Linked DNA regions of Homo sapiens: region 1 is linked to region 2. The links are contacts of gene promoters, found by promoter capture Hi-C in blood cells and fetal thymus (Javierre and others, 2016). All regions are on one chromosome and are shown on one strand. The core of a region is centred on a gene start or on the middle of the fragment in contact, and the rest is flanking DNA. Distances in the headings are between cores, read along the strand shown.

Evidence for each region. The method cuts DNA at HindIII sites, captures the fragments that hold promoters and counts their contacts. A CHiCAGO score of 5 or more calls a contact.
Region 1: a fragment that was not itself captured here is called in contact with the fragment with the promoter of CSF2 in region 2 in 1 of 17 cell types (neutrophils); the score reaches 6.8 in neutrophils.

What each region holds. Positions count from the first base shown.
Region 1 is chr5:131,558,667-131,563,011 of GRCh38, reverse strand. RAPGEF6 (Rap guanine nucleotide exchange factor 6) reads left to right here. Exons shown (of 28, transcript NM_016340.6): 5 at 965-1,034. Among named protein-coding and RNA genes, the nearest start is that of RAPGEF6, 74 kb to the left of the region's middle. The HindIII fragment of the contact is 3,906 bases long and covers 1-3,568 here.
Region 2 is chr5:132,071,104-132,075,038 of GRCh38, reverse strand. It overlaps CSF2 (colony stimulating factor 2), which reads right to left and starts at 1,250. Exons shown (of 4, transcript NM_000758.4): 1 at 1,057-1,250; 2 at 917-958; 3 at 104-229. The coding sequence starts at 1,215. The HindIII fragment of the contact is 5,468 bases long and covers 1-1,877 here.

The DNA of each region.
Region 1 (4,345 bases), core at 366-2,865, 510 kb after region 2:
TGTGGTTGCTTTCTTTTTGATATGCTGAGAAATCTTTCTGAGACCAAGAATATAAAAATACTGTCTTTTAGTACTGGTCCAGCTTTAGTTTTTTCCAAAGAGCTGTGACTCCAACACTTTCTTTTAAGAAGTCATCTTTATATCTAACTACATTTCTTTATATATAGTTGGCACTTCATATCCGTGGGTTTCACATCCATTAATTCAAGCAACTGCTGATCCTGGAAAAAAAAATGGATGGTTGCATCTCTACTAAGCATATATAGACTTGTTTTACTTGTCATTATTCCCTAAGCAATAAAGCATAACAACTATTTATGTAGCATTTCCCGTGTATTAGGTATTATTAAAAATCTCAAGTTGATTTAAAGCATATGGAAGGATGCACATAGGTTATATGCAAATGCTACATCATTTTATGTTAGGCGCTTGAGCACTGGTAGATTTTTGTATCCTTGGGGATTCTGGAACCAATCCCAGTTGGATACCAAGAGACTACTCAAGTGTGAATATTTTTTAAGTTTTTTTATTTTTAGTATCTGTTGTCTTAACACTGCTCCCAAAAGATTATAATAATTTACTTTTATTAAATTGCCTAATCAGGTTATCACTTTTATTAGATTTTTACTAAGTGTATTTTTTTCTTTGTGCAACGTATATTGACAGATGTTAGAAATTTGAGATTAGACAGTTATCTTTTATAATTAATTTTAGGGACTAGTTAAAGGCAGAAGTTTAAAAAGAATTTTCATATAGTATTGAGATCAGTTATATCTGGACAATTAAGAGAAAGGTTTTTTTTTTTCTTTCTTTTTTAGAAAATCTTAACATAAATATTGTGACAGGATCAGAATTTCTTGGATAATATCTCAGGGCTTTTTTGTTGTTTGTTTGTTTTCTTTTCCTATATTGATATATTTTATTAATAACCTTTGCTAAAGAAATTGTTTTTCTGTTTTTATAGTTTTGGTAAGCAGTTTGGAGGAAAAAGAGGATGTGATTGTCTTGTATTAGAGCCTTCAGAAATGATTGTGGTAAGAACTTTAAAGAATGCTGAATTGTTTTTGATATGCTTCAGTTTTAACTTTAAATGTAGTAGGCTTTAAACACTTAAGGAGGTTTTATTACTATGACCTTTTAGAGATTTCATCAAGTAGCATCAGAACTATCTACCAGGTTTATCTATTTCTGTCTCTTCAGACTTTTTTTGATCCTCAAGAGAGTGTGAAACATGATACACTTACATATAATTTGCAGATTTGGTATTTTTTACCCCCTTCTACCAGAAAATTAGAAGTTTTAAAAGGGGACCATGAGTTTTCAAGTGATTTTTTTTTTTTTTTTTTTTTTTGAGACAGAGTTTCATTCTTGGTGCCCAGGCTGGAGTGCAATGGTGCAGTCTTGGCTCACTGCAACCTCCGCCTCCTAGGTTTAAGCAGTTTTCCTGCCCTAGCCTCCTGAGTAGCTGGGATTACAGGCACCTGGCACCATTCCCAGCTAGTTTTTCTATTTTTTAGCAGCCATGGGGGTTTCACCATGTTGGCCAGGCTGGTCTCGAACTCCTGACCTCAGGTGATCCATCTGCCTTGGCCTCCCAAAGTGCTGAGATTACAGGCGTGGGTCACTGCGCCCAGCCTCAGGTGATTTCTTCTTTCCCATTCAATTTTACTTTTTCAATAAACTTTGAATTCTATAGTCTGTGCCCTAGACTAGAGAGAATGAAGTAGAGAAAAGTAAAAAGACATACAATTAGATCCAAGTAAGAAATGGTGTTAGTATTTTCACTTTTTAATTATTTAAGATAAGTTTTTATTTAAGAGTGTATTTAAGGAATAATTCTTTATTTTTTCTTAAAAGAGCTAAGTAGTTGATGTAACTTTAGAATTTTTTTTTTTAAGTATTAGAAGAATCAAGAACACAGCTTGCTTTTTACGTTGTTCTAAGATGACCTGACTAGAAAACAGCATATACCGAGTGGACTCATTGTCCTACTAGGATCTCATGTAGATGACCATGTCATCTGATTAGATTTGAACTGTCAAGAAGAGAAATTGAATTCTTAATGAAGCATTTTAATGTAAGGGCTCAAAACCAAACTACTTTTCCATTTCATGGTGCTATAGTCAGATTGATACCTTCAAATAGTTTGTTTTCTCTTTCTTAAACTGGATCATCTGTATAACCATGAACTCACTATCCCTAATTTTATGTGAGCAACTGGATTTTAAGCTCTTACAGGGCAAAGATTATGTCTTATTCCACTTGTGTCTCCGAGAGTATCGCAGAGTACTGCCTGCATAGTAAGTATTCAGTGAATGTTTCTTGAATTCAAGTTTTTTCAAGGATGGAGTATGTATTGTTTCAAATTTATTTTCTTTAAGCACTGAATATATGGGATTCCTATTAGAGCCTCAGAATTCTTTCTTTTTAATGTATGTATTGAGGAACATGGCAAGAAAACTGCCCAGGCAGTATTGATTTTCTGACTTTTTAGTTGTATTTTGTATTTCTCATACTATATGCAAAAGAAATACTGCTTTTACTTCAGTGTTATACATTCTGTTTTAGTGCTTGTTTTACATACTTTATGTAATATTTTCATATGAGGAGGAAGAAAAGGAGAAATCATAGGCATAGCTATAAATGACATTGTTGGTGCAATTGATGAATTCAAAATATGCACTACAGATTGGATAATATCAAATTCCCTGAGTTTGATAACCATACTGTGGTTCTGTAAGACAAAGTCCTTATTGTTAGCAGTTACATGTTGACATATTTTGGGGTCAAGAAGCATTATATCTCCAATTTATTCTTCAGTATTTCAGAAAAACAAGTATATAAAATAAAAAGTCACATCAAGTATATGTATTTATGGCTGGTAATTTTTAAATTTCAAAAATTTAAATTTATTGATGATTGGTATAATTTTAAATGCTTTATGAGTTATAGGAGAAAACAATCCAAAATAGGTGAAATTTTTCAGAATTGTTAAAAATGCCTGGTCAAATGGTTTTGTCTATTTGTACAGATTTGATTAACTCCACTGGTGATTGGAAGTGTCTGTTACTGAACACATTCTTGATCACCTGATAAGTTAGTCATCTTAATCTGACACATTGTAAAGTAATCTCCTTGTTTTAACTTTTTTTTTTCTTTTTTTTTTTTCTTTTTTTCTTAAAGAAAAGGGGCTTACCGAGAGTAGAGTGTGCGGTGGTGCGATAGCTCAGCGCAGCCTTGGACTCCTGGGCTCAAGTGAGCCTCTCTCCTCAGTCTCTCAAGTAGCTGGGACTACAGATGCACCCCACCATACCCAGCTAATTTGTTGTTGTTGTTGTTGTTGTTATTGTTTTTGTAGAGACAGCCTTGCTATGTTTCACAGGCTGATCTCGAACTCTTGACCTCAAACAATCCTCCCACCTCAACCTCCCAAGTGTTGGACTTACAGGTGTGAGCCACCATGCCTGGCCCAAAGTATACTTTTAGGCAAGAAGCATTATTTAATGTAAGAATGGTACTGTATAGTGATAAAAGGTTAATTGTATCAAGGTTACACAATCCTGAAGCTTTACATGCCTTCAAAATACATAAAACAAAAATTGTCCTTAGTAAAATCAGAACTAGACAAACCCACAATCACAGTGGGAGATTTTTATTTTTATTTTTATTTTTATTTTCATTTTGTGATGGAGTTTTGCTCTCTCGTCTAGGCTGGGGTGCAGTGGCATAATCTCAGCTCACTGCAACCTCTGTCTCCCAGACTTAAGTGATTCTCCTGCCTCAGCCTCCCAGGTAGCTGGGATTACAGGTGTGCGCCACCACGTGCAGCTAATTTTTGTATTTTTAGTAGAGACAGTGTTTTGCCATGTTGGCCAGGCTGGTTTTGAACTCCTGACCTGAGGTGATCCTCTTGCCTCGGCCTCCCAAAGCGCTGGGATTAACAGGTGTGAGCCGCTTTGCCTGGCCAGGAGATTTTAATATACCTCTAAAGTAACTGACAAAACAACCACCATGAGTCAGTAAGGATATTGAGGATTTGAACCTCATCATGTACACATTTTACCTAAGAGACATAACAGGGAACACTACACTTATCAACAACAGAGTACGCCTACTTTTCAAGTGCACATGGAATGTTTTTTAAATTTGACCACATGCTGGGACATAAAGCAAGTCTCAAAATTTCAGTATTTAAAATTTTATAGTTTCTGACCACCATGAAATTAATTTAAAAACCAATTATAAAAACACAGCTAGAAAAAAAAATACAACTTCTGAAATTCAGGCGTATGCTCTAAATCGCTTGTCAAAGAAGAATTACTTAGAAAATTAGAAAATATTTTAA
Region 2 (3,935 bases), core at 1-2,500:
CCCCCTGGGGTCCTGAACAGCCACAGCCATAGATCTCTCCCCATGTCGACCCCACCCCCTAGATTAAGACATTCCTGCTGGAGGCCCTGCCGTAGGCACTCACCGGGGTTGGAGGGCAGTGCTGCTTGTAGTGGCTGGCCATCATGGTCAAGGGGCCCTTGAGCTTGGTGAGGCTGCCCCGCAGGCCCTGCTTGTACAGCTCCAGGCGGGTCTGTAGGCAGGTCGGCTCCTGTGGAAAATGTCGTTCGTCGGTGAGCAGTGGCCAAGTGCCCACAGTGGTACAAGAACTCTCCACCACTCCTTTTTGCTGCTGCCCCCAGCCCCCAGGAGTAGGGCTTGGGAGGGGCACAGGCTGGGTCCAGTCATAGACCCTGCCCTGTCCATGGCAGGCACGAACCTGCCCTTCTCACTGCCCCGCCCAGGCCACCCTCAGCGGCACCTGGAGAGGAGCCCAGCCTTAGGGAAGGAGGTGACTCTCACCCCATCATTCAGGGAGAGGGGGGTGGGGCCTCACCTGGACCTGCTGGGTGGGCAAGGGTTGTTCCTGAAACCCCTCTGTGCCTCTCTGTAGTCAGCACTGTCTCAACAGGACTTGGTCTCGGGGCACAGTGAGCGCCCCAAACCCACAGCTCCTGTCTCATGAAGTGACCCCCACTTTACCACCTGTCCCCTGGTGACTCCTGGCCATTGAATGCTAGGTCTGCCCATGGCCGCTCAGCTGATAAAGGAGCTCATGTGACTGCCATAGGGGCACGGCCAGCAGCCTCTTGAGCACCCAGTTGCTACCCCCTCCTCCTGCAGCCAGCTGACTGGAGAGAAAGTGGACAACCCTGTGTGGTGCCATCTAAAATGGAGTCCCCACCTCCACCCCAGGGCAGGGGCTTCTGGAAAGCTATGTCAGAGAGAAGCATCTTACCTGGAGGTCAAACATTTCTGAGATGACTTCTACTGTTTCATTCTGTAGAAAAGGAAAATGTCATGTTATCAAGCTGACAGGCGTGGCCAGTCAGGGGCCAGCTGGGTGGCCTAGGCACAGGCCCACATTCTCTCACTTACCATCTCAGCAGCAGTGTCTCTACTCAGGTTCAGGAGACGCCGGGCCTCCTGGATGGCATTCACATGCTCCCAGGGCTGCGTGCTGGGGCTGGGCGAGCGGGCGGGTGCAGAGATGCTGCAGGCCACAGTGCCCAAGAGCAGCAGGCTCTGCAGCCACATCCTCCAGAGAACTTTAGCCTTTCTCTCTGTGTACTGGGCTCACTGGCAAAAGAGCTCTTAAATACACAGAGGAAATGATTAATGGTGACCACAAAATGCCAGGGAGGCGGGGGAACTACCTGAACTGTGGAATCTCCTGGCCCTTATCAGCCACACATGGGAACGGTGAGCCTTTTCCCTAGGTGGTCAGGCTTGGGGGTTTTCATTAATGAACCTTTCCAAGAACCGACAGCCCACCCACCCGCCTTCCTGAGGGCTCTCCAGCCCTCCCTGGGCAGTCTGAATGGGCCTGAGGCTGCCCCCTCCCTCTGAGGGGCACAGTTTGGACTTCCTGGCCTGGAATGGCTGGGGTGGGGCGTGGGAGACACTTAGATAGGGCTCCCCATCCTGCCTGTAATCCCAGGGGCCTTTGGGCAGGCTATGCCCGCCCTGGTGCCTCATTCTGACTCCAGCCTTCCTCTTCTCTGGCCACTGTGAGAGACTTGAGTGTGAGGGGAGCTCTCACAGACCTGCCCCACTGACAGTTCACATGGGCTCCCACCCAGGACCTGGAGCAGGGGGCAACCTCAGTCCAGTAAGGGGGGACCCCTGCCCCTGTGAGCAGAGGGAATGACCACCATGTGCACATCCAGCAGCGAGACTGCAGCCACTCTCAGCAAGCTTCAGAGGGGGTGTGGCTGGGTCAAGTCGGGACCCAGAGTCTGACTCTTGGCTCTGGAGCCACCTTCCTGAGTGACTCCCCTCTCTGGTTATGTGAACCTTGATTCCCTCTGCAGAGCAGGTTTGCCCCTCTGAGGTTCGGACTACACTCCTATATGTAGCCCCCAGAAGACACCAGGAGCTTCAGGCTGGCTCCAGGGCTGTGGCTGCATCCATCTCAGGTACAGGGACAATGGCTTCCCCAGCAAGGCCCTCCAGGCTTAATTTCCTACATAACCCCAGCATCCCCCAACTCCAGAGGCCTTTCTGTGGAAGTGTGGAAGTAGGAAATCTAAAGGCTCTTGAGGGGCTGACAAGTGTTTGATTTTCACAATGGAGTTCAGAGAAGACAGCACGAGTTTGTGTTTGCACAAGGTATCTGGCTCAAGCTGCCCCATGCCTGGGTTTCATAGCTAAAGGGGTGTGGGCCCACACGTGCCCATTTCTGGGTGTATGTGTGCTGCTGTGATTGGTTGTACATACAGGTGCCTGGTAGAGGGGAGGATGTTTTCCATGCAGATGCATCTATTGAGTCCTCTTACCTGCTTTATGAAAGGCTCCAGGCCTCTGAAGGTGACTCTGATACTGGAGAAGCTCCCTACTCCAGGTGCAGTGCCTCTGGGCCCTAGAGGCTGATTCAGCCTAAACCAGTGGGGTTGGACACAAGCGAGAACATTCTGCTGGACTCAGGTTGGCGAGCCTTCAGAGAGCAGGTGGAGTTCATGGCTTTAGCACTGTGGTCTGAGTCTGCAGCCCTGGCCAGTTTCCCTGTACTGTGGGAGTTTTTCTGACCTTGCATAGAGAAACCAAACCTTAGTCCTCCAGACCCCACTGTGAGGCCAGCCCCATCCATCTGAGCCTGCGTAGAACACTCCTAGTGGCCAGGCTGGGGTGGGAACATGAAATGTCCAGGCCCTGGCCCTTTCTCCACCTTTTTTGCAAGGCCTTGGCTCAGCTCTTTCCAGGGAGCTCTCGGGGGAGAGATGAGGACATGGATACTACATGTAGATATCACATGTGTTGGATAGCACCCTGGAGGCTGGAGGGCAGGGAAGGGAGCCATAGATAGTGGTTCAGCTGATGGCCAGGGAGGCAGAGAGCCTGTATGACCCATCTGGGAGAGAAGGTCACTTTCCTCCTAGAAATGAGTTGTCATAGCTCAGACAGTCAGTCAACAAGTCTTTCCAATCCACACCAGGACCTGTTCTGGGGAGGTAAACGGGACCCTCCCACTGGCCCTCACATTTGGCCCTTGAGGCTCCCAGTCTGGTAGGAAACAGACTGCAATGGACCCTCCCATGGTGTGACCTTGACTCGGCAGGGGGAAGTCCAGAGCTGAGGGATCCCAGAGGGCCACCTTCTCTAGCTTGGGGATCCAAGGGGACCAGAGAGCTTCACTAGAGATCCTGCCTGCAAGCCCAGGCTGAAAGGCTAGAAGTCAGGTGGGTACGTTGGGTTGGAAGGAGAGGGGCAGGAGAGGACAGGGGAGAATGTTCTGGGCACAGGGAGCCCTGGGGTTTTAGGAATGGGTATAAGGAACAGCAGGCAGACTCCAGAGAGATTGAGGAGGTAGAATCTCAACAGGACTTGGTGCTATAGTGAAGTCACTCAGTCATTCATTATTTTTTGAGCATCTACTAGGTTCCCAGCAGGGAAAAGGGACATAAGGATGACAAAAACGGTCAGGGTCCTGCCTCCAAGGACTTTTTAACCCCATCCATGGAGGAGCAAGATTAGTCTACTCACCCCCCTCCCCCCCCACCAAAGTGTGCTTTGAATGTGAGTAAGAGGAGTTAGAATCACTGTCCACATGGCTAAGGTGAGGACCCAGGGGACAAAGGAGCAGATCTTCAGAGCGTGAGGCCCACGGGAAGTTTTGGAGTTTCAGAGTCTGCATGTACAGGAGACAGATCTGGCAGCGGTACATGTCTGTGTGGTAGCTGAGGCCACGGAAGTTATTCAGGAAGAAGAGCTGAGGGCCAGCAAAGCTGTGTTTAAGGGCTGGGACATAACAGATGGGC